Regions from separate parts of the Homo sapiens genome. Here regions 2, 3, 4 and 5 are each linked to region 1. Evidence: promoter capture Hi-C in human tissues and cell types (Jung and others, 2019). All regions are on one chromosome and are shown on one strand. The core of a region is centred on a gene start or on the middle of the fragment in contact, and the rest is flanking DNA. Distances in the headings are between cores, read along the strand shown.

Region 1 (2,700 bases), core at 159-2,658:
CACTTTGAAACTTGCAACTATTACCCATGTAAATTCCGCACACATGTGTAGTCACATGCGCATCCACATACACATAACAGAAGCCAGTGTCCTTCACCATGAGCCAGGCACTCCGGCAGTTTCTGCTCTATTTTATTTTACAAAATTGCTGGGGGTGACTGATGAAACTGATTTCAAAATGCACATTTGAAAAGCATGGTCCTAGCTGGCACCCCCTGGTGGCAGCCCGGGCCTCGGGTGTGGGTCCAGGTGGGATCCCCCCCATCCCCAACTCTGGGTTCTGAGCTGGGATAAAGGCCTCTTGGCGGTGTTGCTGGGGGCCACAGCCCCAACAGCGCCCTTCCTGCTCTCCCCCACCGGCCACAGAGCGTGAGTCCCGACCACCGCGTCCGCCGGCGCCCCTCAGTGGGCCTTTGTCCCAAGAAGCTGCCAAGCCAGGTGGGGACTGCTCTCACCGCCCGTGTGGCAGGCTGTCCTCTGAAGGACAGAGTCCTCTTCTCTCGTGTCCCTAAGCCTAGCAGGCAGTGGGAATGAACGGGCAGCCCGGTTGCTGGGCACCCATCTCCCCAGCCTAGCCGGTGTGTGGAGGATTGCAGCCCTTTAGCCCAGCCTGCCCAGGCAAGCCTGCCGGGGTGAGCAGGAGGGCTTCTGGGGTGAAGGGAGGTGGGGGAGGGAGGGAGACCACGGGCGGAGGCTCACCTGAACTGAATGCAGGAGGGGCAGTGCCTTTGCACCAGAAAGAGCCCATGTGTCCTTCTCACCATCCCCTGTGCTTACACCCCCAGTCAGCATGCTCCGGGGGTCCCTGAGCCGGGCCGCCCCAGACGGCCCTCCTTCCCTCCCACCCACCACCCCGCGACCCCTCCCAAACGTGTGCGCCAGGAAGATGACTCCAGGGTGCCTTTAGCTGGGGCTGTAGTGGTTGGGACGGGCGGCTGTATATCAGGGGTGAGTTCCAGGGAGACTTGGGGGCTTAGAAAACTTAGAAAACTTCTCCAAGTTGGGAGAGAATCCCGCCCGCCCTGCCGGAGGCGGGGCTCAGTGCCCTGAAGTGGAGGCGCCCGTGGGCCACCTCCCTCCCTGCAGCCGCAGCCGCTGCGCAGAGGCGCTGGCTCCTTCTCCTCCCACCTGGGACAGGTGTCTCCCCAGCCCCCGCTCCCAGGGGCCTCTCTCTCTCTCCCGCCCCTCAGGGTCGAGTCCCGGCAGGGGCTCGGGGATCGGGTAGTCAGTACCTCTCTGCGTCTCCAGCCGCCGGTAGTTGGGGACCCTGTGGCTGGAGTGCGTTTTCACCAGGAAGGAGCGCGGCATGTTCCCCTCCCGGGCGGCAGGCCGGGGTGGGCTGGGGCGGGAGGGGCGCGCCTGGGTCCGGACTGCTGCGTCCGCCGGCGCTTGAAGGGGTCAGGCTCATTAGCATAGCGCGCCGCCTCCGCCAACCAGCGCCCGGCGCGAGTGGGGCGGGGCCACGGGGGCGGAACTGAGGGCGAGGCGGGGTCTCGGGCAACACGCCCAGGACAGGTGCGCGGGCGGGACGGGGCGGGGAGCGCGTGGCCGCCGGTGTCCTCCCCACGGGAATTCTCTGGCGTGCGCGCCGCCGAGTCACACACCGACCCGTCGGGCCTGGCCACCCACTCGCCGTGAGTGAAGGGCAGAGTTCAAAGCTGTGTGGAAACCGAGCGAGAATCTCTTCCACAGAATGTGGAAGCGTCGGCCGAGCGCGGTCCTTGGAGAACCCTTGCTGCGGAGAATGACGCTCACTCTGCGGCCTGGCCTCGCCTCCCCATCCCTTCTGCAAACTCACAGGACAGGATTGATGGGGAGAGCCCAGGCGAAACGAAGCTGACCCTAGTGACCAGCCCTACTGGCGGCTCTGGAACAGGCCCGGGACCGGTGGCCTGGAGACAGTGGTCCTTTCTGGATGGGCTGCAGTCTCCGAAGGCTTCCCCCACTGGAGTCAGCCCTTTAGGAGTTTGTCCAGTGCCTCCAGAAAGCTGTTTTTTGGGGGACGGAGGACTTGGCCTGGAATTCTGGAATTCCCAGGGGGTCAGACATGGTTATGGGAAGTTTAATAAAACCGGTGAATCACGTGAATTCTGCAACAGCTGCACGTGTGACCTGGGCAATCCGTTTCCCTCCTTTGTGGTCCTGTAGAGCCCTCAGGGTCATAAAAAGCTGGGAGCCGCTGTGTCCAGTGTCTGGGTCTCTTTTGACATGGACATTTCATAACGTTGGGGGCCAGGTGGGGCCGTCTCTGGGCTGGCGTGCACACAGGGTGTCCCTGGCTGTGCCGCCGGCCTGCCTCCCCAGCAGGGCTTCCACCTCAGAGCTGGGTGGCCTTTGCCCCCTGTGGGCCGGGGGTGGAGAAGGTGGGGGGTGGTGAGTCCATGGAAGCTCTGAGGGACAGACAGCAGGGAGGAGGGCCGTGCCACACCAGCATCCCACGTCCCACATCACACGTCCAGGGTGTGAAAAGCTGGGCTAGTATCAGCCCCACTTTGCCAATGAAAAAAAACTAGGCTGTGAGTCTGGGCTCAGCAGCTCACGCCTGTAATCCCAGCACTGTGGGAGGCTGAGACAAGAGGACTGCTTGAGCCCAGGAGTTTGAGACCAGCCTGAAAAACAACATGAGACCCCGTCTCTACAAAAAAAAAAAAAAAAATTATTTTAATTAGCCAGGCGTGGCAACACCCATCTTCAGTCCCA
Region 2 (2,700 bases), core at 7-2,506, 1.1 Mb after region 1:
AAGGGACCACACTCCTCTGAGCTGGGAACGAAACAGTGAAGGGACCACACTGCCCTGAGCTGGGAACGAAACAGTGAAGGGACCACACTCCTCTGAGCTGGGAACAAAACAGTGAAGGGACCACACTGCCCTGAGCTGGGAACGAAACAGTGAAGGGACCACACTCCTCTGAGCTGGGAACAAAACAGTGAAGGGACCACACTGCCCTGAGCTGGGAACAAAACAGTGAAGGGACCACACTCCTCTGAGCTGGGAACAAAACAGTGAAGGGACCACACTGCCCTGAGCTGGGAACGAAACAGTGAAGGGACCACACTCCTCTGAGCTGGGAACGAAACAGTGAAGAGACCACACTGCCCTGAGCTGGGAATGCCTGGTCCTTGGATGCCCTCAGCTGAGAGGTGGCGTTCTAAACACCGAAGAGTTCATTTCTCACGAATTCCACCAACTGAGCTACAACTCGGTGCAAATGCAGCCTGCTTGGGGAGCTCCCTGGGGAACATGCCGTGCTGCGGAGAAAAAGGCCCTCCTGTCCCTGATGACCGAGAAGGAAGGGCGACAGCTGTGGTCTTCAGGACTAAGTGAGCCGCCAGGGAAGTGAGGGAAATGCTGCCCTCCTCCCACTCTCGGGACCCTGGGCTGCTAGGGGAGCCTGCTGAGCTCTGGCGGGAGCTGAGGTGAAGTCTCTGCTCCGAAGTCCCAAGAAAGCATAGTCAGGCGCAAGTGGGCCACAGTCATGCTCTCGTGACGGGGCACAGGCAGCCACCGTACAGCCTCCAGCCAGTGCACAACCCAAGACCGTGAACAAACAAGCCCTGCACCCCTGTGGACATGAAGGTGCCCGTGGGGTCTGAGTGGGGTCCACAGGGGAGAAGTCCTGCGGGTGCCATGGTGACGGCGGTGGGGGCAGGGACGGTTCTGGGAACTCAGGATGTGCGGCCCTCATCTGCTATGAGCTGGCATCTTTAACTGTGGCTTCCATGTCTCCTGATGCATTTTCCCTGAGATGGTAACACCCGTGATGGAGACGTGCTGCAGAGATGCCAGAGGCAGCTGTGGAGTCTCCCACTCATCCCCAAAACAAAACACCAAACAAGACAGCTGACCCACCAGAGCAGAGGTCAAAATTAAGGGGCATTTCGTCTGGCACTTGGCCAGTATGAAGTCGACCATCAGGGAGGGGTCTCTGCTCCGCAGACAGGCGTTCAGGAGGCCCTGCAGGAGAGAACGCAGCAGGAGGTCAGCGGTTTGTGAGGACCCACAACTAGTAGAGTGAAGGAACTCACAGGAAGCTGACAGGAGGATCCACCCACGGCGTTCTGAGAAGGCCACGAGAGGGGCTGAGGGAGCATCTCACCCTGAAGAAGTGGGCAGTGATGTCCTGTGTCAGGGCACCTCCGTGGGAGCAGAAGTTTCTCTGCAAAAGAGTTCAAGGCAGGTAAGAAAAGCCCACAGGAAGAGAGGCGAGACCAACATGCAGAGTGGCTGCTGTGGATTCAGTTTTGAGAAAAACACTCGCTAAGGCTTGGCGTGGCCACCATGGATGGTGCTCCTGGGCTGACCGGGCCTGGCGCCCTGGCTGTGCTGTCCTGAAACTTAACGGCTTCCCTGGGCGGCCAGATCCTGCAGCCCACCAGCTCTGGCCCAAACAGTCTTGTAGGCTCCAGGAAGAAGCCAGGGAGGCACAAGCAGCCGCAGGGAAGGGGACGCACCCGGAGCGTAGAACTGTGGTGAGGACGACACTAATACCAAGGGCCAACCATCCTCTGGTCCCTTCACTAACCAAGTGCTGTCTATGGTGTTTTCCTGTCTGTCGGCTGTCACGTGCCAACTGAGAGCTTTCTGAAAAACAGCCATTCATAAGAATTCAAAGGAGACCATAGTGATTTTCTGAAAGCTTTTGCTAGTCTCACGTCCTCTGCTTTCCTTGTCACATTTTGAAGTGCTGCACAAGGCCGGGCTCACACCTGTAATCCCAGCACTTTGGGAGGCCAAGGCGGGTGGATCACGAGGTCAGGAGTTCAAGACCAGACTGACCAACATGGTAAAACGTCATCTCTACTAAAAATACAAAACTTAGCCGGTCATGGCGGCAGGCACCTGTAGTCCCAGCTACTCAGGAGGCTGAGGCAGGAGAATCGCTTGAACCTGGGAGGCGGAGGTTGCAGGGTGAGCCAAGATTTCACTGCTGCACTCCAGCCTGGGCGACAGAGCAAGACTCTGTCTCAAAAAATAAATAAATAAATAAATAAATAAAAATATAAAATGCTGCACAGCTGGCATGGAACCTGAATTCCATCTCTCACATTTGTGCATCTTCAAAAACAAGAAAAAGGCCTTCGGGAGCAGAAGCTGCTCTCTGTAGAGTGGGAGGGGCTGGTATCCGTCTCCCCAGCTCTGACCAACTGGGTCCCTACGCTGCCCGTCCCCACAGCGAGTGTCACTTCTTTTTATTTGAGACAAGAGTTTCGCTCTGTCACCCAGGCTGGAGTGTAGTGGTGGGATCTTGGCTCAGTGCAACTCTGCCTCCTGGGCTCAATTACTCCTCCTGACCCAGCCTCTCAAGTAGGTGGGAGTACAGGCGTGCACCACCATACCCAGCTAATTTTTCTATTTTTTGTAGAAACAGGGTTTTGTCATGTTGCCCAGGCTGGTCTCGAACTCCTGGGCTCAAGTGATCCCCCACCTTTCCAGAGTGCT
Region 3 (2,723 bases), core at 8-2,507, 1.2 Mb after region 1:
TAGCTGAGGAGCCAGAACTTTTCCTGTTCTTACCCTTCTCCCACTGCCTGTCTCCCCTCCAATCTGTATGTGAATGTATGTTGTGAGGTTTTATCCATTTAATATTATACTCCTAAGATTCATCCATATTGTGTGTTCAGTGGTGGTTCATTCATTCATTCATTCTCACTGCTATAAAAAGGTTCCAGACTTGGCGTGGTGGCTCACGCCTGTAACTCCAGCTCTTTGGGAGGCTGAGGCAGGAGGATCGCTTGAGGTCAGGAGCTCAAGACCAGCCTGGGCAATGTGTTGAGACCCCCATCTCTACAAAAAAATTTAAAAAATTAGCCAGGCATGGTAGCTCACGCCTGTAGTTCCAGCTACTTGGGAGGCTGAGGCAGGAGGATGCTTGAACCCAGGAGGCCAAGGCTGCAGTGAGCCAAGATCACACTGCTGCACTGCAGCCTGGATGACAGAGCGAGACTCTGTCTCAAAAAGAGAGAGAGAAGGTTTCATCGTATGAATTATTTTTATCGTATGTCATTTTGTTTTTCTATTTTGAGATGGAGTCTTGCTCTGTTGCCCAGGCTGGAGGGTAGTGGTGCGATCTTGACTCACAGCAACCTCTGCCTCCCGGGTTCAAACGATTATACCACTTCAGCCTCCCAAGTAGCTGGGATTACAGGCTCCTGCCACTGTGCCTGGCTAATTTTTGTGTTTTTAGTAGAGACAGGGTTTCGCCATGTTGGCCAGGCTGGTCTTGAACTCCTGACCTCAAGTGATCCGCCTGCATCAACCTCCCAAAGTGCTGGGATCACAGGCGCGAGCACCTCGCCTGGCCTATCATTTTCATTAGGAAAAGTTTGTAGGTTGATGGGTCCTTGGTGCCTTTTTTTCCTGCCTGCTGCTGGAGAGGAGCTGAGGCTTGAGGAGAAAGGAGGAAGAAGGAACTTTAATGCATTGGCTGAATATATATATTTAACGTTTTGTCCTGCAGATGGTCCTCTGTAAATGGAGTAAATTACAATATTTGAGGAGTCTTCCTTACCTCATCTCTGAAGGCAGAGATACCCCATAGCCTCGGGGCCCCGGCTTTCTGTAGAGCTGCTGACAAAGTCCCCCTGAGCCAGAGCTGAGTCACTGCTGTGTCCAACAGTCTCGGGTTCTTGCATCTTTCCCGTCCAGCGTCTCGCACTGACCCTGGGGGTCCCCAACGCAAGCCCGTTCACATCTCACTATTCATATCTCAGCATGAGCGTTCACACTGTAAGTAACGCCCTGGCTCTTCTCCAACCTGTTTTTCCAGATAAACATTGACGATCTTGAGGATGACCCTGTGGTGAACGGGGAGAGGTCTGGCTGTGCGCTCACAGACGCTGTGGCACCAGGGAACAAAGGAAGGGGTCAGCGTGGAAACACAGAGAGCAAGACGGATGGAGATGACACCGAGACAGTGCCCTCAGAGCAGGTGGGGGGCTGAGTGGTGAGGAGGTGGCATCAGACGGGAGAGTTCCAAGGCACCCAGCCACGTGTATCCTGTGCTGTGATTTTCCTTGGAGGTGTAATTTTCCGAGTTCCATTTTGGTTACCTGCTAGTTGCCCCCAAATTTACTTGGGAACCTTGATGAGATTTGCATGAAATGAGTGAAGGTCGCAGGCCTTTCTCCTGCATCTCAGGAGAGTCTGCGCCTGCCCAGCAGTGTATGTAACCGCACACGTGTGTCCCTCCTAGCCAACCGCGCACGTGTGTCCCTCCTAGCCGACCGCGCACGTGTGTGCCTCCTAGCCGACCGCGCACGTGTGTCCTTCCTAACTGTGCCCCGAACGTTTGCTTGGCTGGGTTGTGGATCTGGGTGCTGGTGTAAGTGAACTTTGAAGAAACATGCAGGTCAGGTTAACGTGGGATGGGCAGAGATGCAGACAGCCTGCTGCTGTGCTCCACAGCACAGAAGAGGGGCCCTAAAAGGAGAGCTTGTGTTCATTTATCCAACAAGTGTTCTTGGGAGCTTGCTGGGTGCTGGGAACGTGCCTTTGCCCCCCAGGAGCCTCTGGTTGGGAGGGCAACATACATGTGAAGTGACAGGTGGGTCCTGACTTGAGGCTCAGGGTCCTGGGGGCTTCCTGAGGAGCCTTCCTACTGTCAGAAGGGGTTGGCCAGGTGCAGGCGTAGGGGACCACACATACAGGTGCGGTGTGAGGCGGCCAGGGCACAGCAAGGCCCCCGTCTTCAGGGTGGCTGCAGTGTGGCAGGGAGTGGCCGACACAGGGAGGAATGAGAGCTGGACCTGGTCAGGGTCCTGTGAGCCTGTGAGGCTGGACACAGAAGGCCCTGGGGACTGCTGTAGCACAGCCCGAGGGGCTCGGAGAGGTGGGAAGGTGCCTGCTGGAGAGAAGAGAGTGAGTTGAAGGAACTTTTGGGACACGGAGGGAGAGGTAGGGGCTGCTTAGGTGAGGGTGGAGTCACGCTTGCTGCTTTAATTCTCACTTCTTAAGATTTACTTCTCATTCTACTGATGAAAATGTGTTTCTATCATTAGTCTCATGCAAGTGGCAAACTCCGGAAGAAGAAAAAAAAACAGAAAAACAAGAAAAGCAGCACGGGAGAAGCATCGGTACGTGAGTTGGGCCTGGCTGTGCTCTGTCCCTCTGCCTGACGCCCCTCTCCCTCTGCCTGACGCCCTCTCCCTCTGCCTGACGCCCTCTCCCTCTGTCTGACGCCCTCTCCCTCTGCCTGACGCCCTCTC
Region 4 (2,709 bases), core at 119-2,618, 1.2 Mb before region 1:
AGCCTCCCGAGTAGCTGGGACCACAGGCATGAGACAATGCACCCGGCTATAACCACCTTTTGTACAGTTCTTCCCAAGTATCCATTATGCAGCCATATGAGATCATCCATCTGATCCCTGCAGTACGTGACGTACACAGATCAAATTATCTCCATGTTAAAAACAAGAAAAACTGAATGTCAGTTCCTAAATGCCTTCCCCAAGGTCATCTGGCCAGTAGGGAGCAGAATCAAGTGCAGACTTTAGGTCCTGTAACTACAGAGGTCTGTGATTTGTGCACATTAAATCCAAGGAGGCGAGCGGAGCACAGCGGTCAGGAGCCGTCTCGGCGGCCAGTGCTGGGTCCACACAGGGCAGCCCCTGTTTCGTCCACTATGGGATGGAAATAATGGCACCTACCTAAGGCTTTTGTGAGAATTCAGTAAAATGCATTTCTAGTACTGTGAACTGGAAAAATGTTAGCATTCAAAATGTTAGTTGCTGTTATTATTGTGGTGCTTGCGGTGTGGCTGGAGGACAATTAAATTGCTTCAGTGCTGTCACAGAGACTCGGAGCTCTGGGAGGATCCAGGAGGGGCACCGGCAACTGGGCCTCCCGGAAGGCAGGGCTCCCTGTGTCTACAGCATCTGCTGCACCCCTGTGGGCAGCACACCCCCAGAAGCACTGGGGATGAGGACAGAGCCACCCACAGCCACCCCAGCTCCGTGTTCCCTGCACTGGGGGCCAGGGCCTATCTTCTCAAGTAGAGACTTTACCACGACATGTGATCGTCTGTTCTAAAACCAGTGCACTTGCCAGGCACAGTGGCTCACGCCTGCAATCCCAGCACTTTGGGGGGCTGAGGCAGGAGGATCGCTTGAGCCCAGTAGTTCAAAACCAGCCTGGGGCCAGGAGCAGTGGTTCACACCTGTAATCCCAGCACTTTGGGAGGCTTAGACAGGTGGAACTCCTGAGGTCAGGAGTTCAAGACCAGCCTGGGCAACATAGTGAGACTACATCTCTACCACAATTTAGAAATTACCCGAGTGTGGTGGTGTGTGCCTGTACCTAGCTGCTCAGGAGGCTGAGGTGGGGGGATCGCTTGAACCTGGGAAGTTGAGGCTGCAATGAGCTATGATTGCATCACCGCACTCCAACCTGGGAGACAGCACGACACCCCAACTCAAATAAATAAATAAATAAATAAATAATGAAAACAAGCACATGACAGCTTGAATAATTATTTAATTACTTGGACTACAGTTAAAATGTTCTCAGGAGTCAAATGCTCATAAAGCTGCAGGGGGTGGCCTCGTCCTCAGCTGAGTGTAACCTGGGGCCACTGTCTGGACAGCAAGGAGGCAGGATGTGATGAGCTTTTTTCCCATCTGTAGCTTTTCACCCACTAATCCCACTGGGAGGAGTCTGCTGTTAGGATACAGTCAATCAGCGATGTAGTCAAAGGTTTGTGTGTAAGGAGATTTATCTCAGCTTGAGCAAAAAGAAAAACAAACAACATAAACATCCCAGCAACAGATTACTATTGAAATAGGTCGCTAAATGTGTATGTCCAGATGACTGAATATTATGCAGTCTTAAAAGGCATGCAGGATGCTCACAGATAATGTGAAAATGGGCAGAACGTACATCAGTTGTGTGCAAACAGGCACTGAGAAAAGACAAAGGTACACCGAAATATTACTAGCATTTATCTCTGGGTAATTTTTATTTTATTTTTCTGTTTTCCAATTTTTCTGTGAGGAACAATCACTACTTCTAGAATTTAAAAAAGTTACAGATATTAAGTCTAAATATAAATACCTCCCTACAAGATGTGAATGATATGAAAAGTATAGAAAAAGCAAGCTTCTAAAACCATAACCACACTTTCCTTCCACACATATCTCGAGGGCCGGGCACATCAGGGGTTAACATGAACTTCAAAGTGTCTACCCCCACAAACAAAATACAGTAAACATGACTATGAAAAAATAGTGTTTTCAATTTGTTTTCCAATTAACCTACCTCTATACAGGAAGGAGTAACGTCTGTTAAATACTTTTAAGTTAACGTAAAAAACATAAAACATAAAAACAAAATAGATTTGTAAGCATTTTGCTAAAATAGTCATTACGTGTCTCTAAAAACCAGAACAAGAAGACAGACAGTTTAAGAGTGAAAGCTATTTGCTGACTTAGACCAAGTGAAAGCCAACGCTAACCAAAAAAACATTTTCCATGTAAAAACATTCCTTTTAATATTTCTTAACCTAGAGCTCTACTCATCAAAAAGAGAAAGAGAGAAAAAAGATTACTGCTTAAAATCTCAGCAAAGGGAACCCAGTACTTAACTAGACCAGCTCCCAGAGTGACCAGATGCAAATCTCTTTCACAAATAGCCACAGGGCAGCACGGCCTCCTCTAGGAACACCGGCCCCAACTGCCCACCCGCGGGGGCTTCCAGGCCTCCAGGTGCCAAGACATCCCACCAGGGGCCAACCACATGGGACCTCTGGGGTAGGGCTTCCCTACAGTCAGCCTCCAACACACCCAGAATCCCTGTTCCAGACACTGCCTGTAGAAACAGAGGGAGTCTAAAGTCGAGAGCCCTAGGGAGGCTAAAGACATACTTCCTAGTCCTGTAATCCCATAAAACAGGGTTCAAAGGGCATCTTAACGGATGTATTGACTTCAGAGAGAACACCAGCATCTTGCTTGTACTCATGAGCA
Region 5 (2,700 bases), core at 85-2,584, 1.1 Mb after region 1:
AGGCGTGAGCCACCACGCCCGGCTTTTTTTTTTTTTTTTTTTTTTTTTTTTTTTGTGAGACAGTCTCACTCTGTAATCCAGACTGGATTGCAAGGGGCGTGATCTCGGCTCACTGCAATTTCTGCCTCCCGGGTCCAGGTTCAAGCAATTCTCCTGCCTCAGGCTCCCGAGTAGCTGGGATTAAAGGCGTGCGCCACCACACCCAGCTAATTTTTGTATTTTCAGTAGAGACCGGGTTTCACTATGTTGGCCAGGCTGGTCTCGAACTCCTGACCCTGAGTGATCCACCCGCCTTGGCCTCCCCAAAAGCTGGGATTACAGCCCTGAGCCACGGCGCCCGGCCTGTTTTTTTGTTGTTGTTGTTTTGTTTTTAATAAAAGAGGCGGGGTCTCACCCCGTTGCCCAGGTTGGTCCAGAACTCCCGGGCTCAGGCGACCCTCCCCTCTGCGGGCCAGGCCACCGCGCCCGCCGCCTCGGGTGTTTTCTTAGGAAAGCTGTGCGGTGGCTGGACTCAAAAACCCCGAACCTAAATCTGCCCGCAGACGGACACCAGCTTCCTCTTACCTCAAGCAAAAGGGCATTCAGGTCCTGATGGCTTCGCAGGAGGCGCACAGCTGATTCCTTTAATTTCTGTGCCCTTTCAGGATTATATTTTTCCCTCTTGACCCTTCCCGCTACGGAGAGAAGTCGGTTCGAAACCATCACAGCACAATTCACACACGGGGTCCCCGGCCCGACGCGCAGGTGGACGCCGCGGAGAAACCCACCAGCGACACCCTCCCGAAGAGGGGCCGGGGCTCCTCCCCAGGGCGCAGGTCTCGGGAAACTAACGGAGACGGCCCCACCGCGGACGCCGGGGAAGACGGCCCAGGAGGGCCCGAGGCAGGGGAGCCCGGGGACGGCTGGCGAGGGGCGGCCTCTGCGCTGAGGGGAGCCCCAGGCCGCGCACCCCAGGCCCGCCTGACAGGGCGGCCGGCGGGGGCGGCGTTCGGGAAAGAAGGGAGCGCCCCGCGGGCGGCGGCTGGGGGCGTCCGCCCAGGCGCAGGAGGGGCCGGGTCCGAGGCAGCCGCGCCGCCCCAGCCGGGCGCCCACCCCGCACAGCCCCCCGGGCGCGGCGTCCGGGGATCCGACCGGCGGAGGCTCTGGCGGGAAGGGATCGGGGAACCGGCGAAACCGTCCCGGGCCGGACGCCGCCCACTCCCGCGGCCTGCCGCGCCCACCTACCCAGCAGCTCGGCCCAGGCCCTCCGGCGGCCCCCTGGGTCCTGGCCCGAGGCGGAGTTCGGGACCCACGAGTCGGACATGGCCTTGGCGCCTACAGCCCCGGCGGCGGCTCCCTGCGCCCGAGCCCGCGCTGCCTTCCTATTGGCTGCGGCCAGGCGCGCACACCCGTTGGCTGGCGGCGGCCAGGCCACGCCCCTCAGGTCGAGGCCTTGCGTCGTGGCCATGTTGGTCCTGGGGGAGGCGCCTGCGCGCGGTGAGGTAGTTTTTGCGTTTGGCTTTGCCGCCGCGGTGTAGTCCGCGGGGGCGTCTCGCGCGGGCAGACTGCCGCCCCTCAAGCGTGGTTCCTGCCGGGAATGACTGGGGTTGGTCCTGAAGAGACCACCTGGCCAACCAAGCCGAGGCAGGCTCAGAGCGCCGCGGGGAGCGCAAAGCCGCGCGCGCCTCTGAGCTCCGGGCAGCCGCTGTTCCTCCCGGCGGCCGAACGGTCCGCGCGCAGGGCGGTGTTTCGGCAGCCGGAGACCGCGCGGTAGCCGCGCCTGTATTCCCAGCGCTTTGGGAGGCCGAGGCTGGAGGGTCGCTTGAGCCCAGGAATTCCAGACTAGCCTGGGCAACAGAGCGAGACCCCATCACTTTTGTTTCTTTTCTTTTTTTTTTTTTTCCTTTTTTTGAGACGGAGTCTCCCTCTGTCGCCCAGGCTGGAGTGCAGTGGCGCGATCTCGGCTCACTGCAACGTCTGCCTCCTGGGTTCAGGTGATTCTCCTGCCTCAGCCTCCCGAGTAGCTGGGATTGCAGGTGCGCGCCACCACGCCTGGATGATTTTTGTTATTTTTAGTAGAGACAGCGTTTCGCCATGTTGGCCCAGGCTAGTCTCGAACTCCGGACCTCAGGTGATCCGCCCGCCTCGGCCTCCCAAAGTGCTGGGATTACAGGCGTGAGCCACCGCACCCGGCTGAGACCCTATCTTTTAACCAGCCTGGGCGGCAGAGCGAGACTCTGTCTCAAAACAAAACCAAACATAAGAATTCGTAAAAGCGAGTGCCTAGGCGAAGCTAATGTGCCTCAAAGTCCTGGGTAAGTAGAGGCCCTGGAGACCCGTCCGCATCCTCTGGCAGTGGCCTTGGAACCACCGAAGGGATTCAGCCGAAGGGCCGCGTTCCCGGCAGGCGTCTTTATTGTGTTGATTACGTAGATGGCGTAGATGACGTAGATGACGTTCAGCACCACAAACGAAGAGCCGAGGCACAGAGTGGGGCCTTGGATTCATGAGATGGGGATGGAGCAGAAATGAGAATTCGGAGTCCATGAAACCCCCACAAAGACTCCTGCACGGCCCGACTCGGACACTTTGCAATCTGCTGGTTGAGGGGGATGGTGTGAACTCAGGGAACAGCCTGAGATCGCGCCGCTGCACTCCAGCCTGGGCAACAGAGCAAGACCCTGTTTCAAAAACAAAAAATAACACTAAGCAATTAACAGG

What was found. The method cuts DNA at HindIII sites, captures the fragments that hold promoters and counts their contacts. A contact is called where the count stands out against the background at its distance.
Region 2: a fragment that was not itself captured here is called in contact with the fragment with the promoter of SNAI3 in region 1 in 1 of the 25 tissues and cell types used here (spleen).
Region 3: a fragment that was not itself captured here is called in contact with the fragment with the promoter of SNAI3 in region 1 in 1 of the 25 tissues and cell types used here (adrenal gland).
Region 4: a contact is called between a fragment that was not itself captured here and the fragment with the promoter of SNAI3 in region 1, in 1 of the 25 tissues and cell types used here (aorta).
Region 5: the fragment with the promoter of FANCA here is called in contact with the fragment with the promoter of SNAI3 in region 1 in 3 of the 25 tissues and cell types used here (lymphoblastoid cells, pancreas and spleen).

Annotation. Positions count from the first base shown.
Region 1 is chr16:88,685,099-88,687,798 of GRCh38, forward strand. SNAI3 (snail family transcriptional repressor 3) reads right to left here and starts at 1,409. Exons shown (of 3, transcript NM_178310.4): 1 at 1,233-1,409. The coding sequence starts at 1,308. It overlaps SNAI3-AS1 (SNAI3 antisense RNA 1), which reads left to right. Exons shown (of 4, transcript NR_024399.1): 4 at 1,693-2,088. RefSeq lists silencers at 1,020-1,179, 1,230-1,689. The HindIII fragment of the contact is 11,241 bases long and covers 1-2,700 here.
Region 2 is chr16:89,745,474-89,748,173 of GRCh38, forward strand. FANCA (FA complementation group A) reads right to left here. Exons shown (of 43, transcript NM_000135.4): 34 at 1,358-1,417; 35 at 1,111-1,215. Among named protein-coding and RNA genes, the nearest start is that of ZNF276, 25 kb to the left of the region's middle. RefSeq lists an enhancer at 1,228-1,397. The HindIII fragment of the contact is 8,916 bases long and covers 1-2,700 here.
Region 3 is chr16:89,882,066-89,884,788 of GRCh38, forward strand. It overlaps TCF25 (TCF25 ribosome quality control complex subunit), which reads left to right. Exons shown (of 18, transcript NM_014972.3): 2 at 1,286-1,447; 3 at 2,517-2,591. Among named protein-coding and RNA genes, the nearest start is that of TCF25, 9.8 kb to the left of the region's middle. RefSeq lists an enhancer at 427-596 and a cis regulatory region at 512. The HindIII fragment of the contact is 6,115 bases long and covers 1-2,723 here.
Region 4 is chr16:87,469,165-87,471,873 of GRCh38, forward strand. All of the region lies in intron 1 of ZCCHC14 (zinc finger CCHC-type containing 14), which reads right to left. Among named protein-coding and RNA genes, the nearest start is that of ZCCHC14, 23 kb to the right of the region's middle. RefSeq lists enhancers at 82-667, 668-1,252, 1,938-2,709. The HindIII fragment of the contact is 5,698 bases long and covers 1-2,709 here.
Region 5 is chr16:89,815,313-89,818,012 of GRCh38, forward strand. FANCA (FA complementation group A) reads right to left here and starts at 1,335. Exons shown (of 43, transcript NM_000135.4): 1 at 1,225-1,335; 2 at 565-674. The coding sequence starts at 1,303. RefSeq lists silencers at 839-888, 1,119-1,408 and enhancers at 1,269-1,563, 1,949-1,998. The HindIII fragment of the contact is 15,845 bases long and covers 1-2,700 here.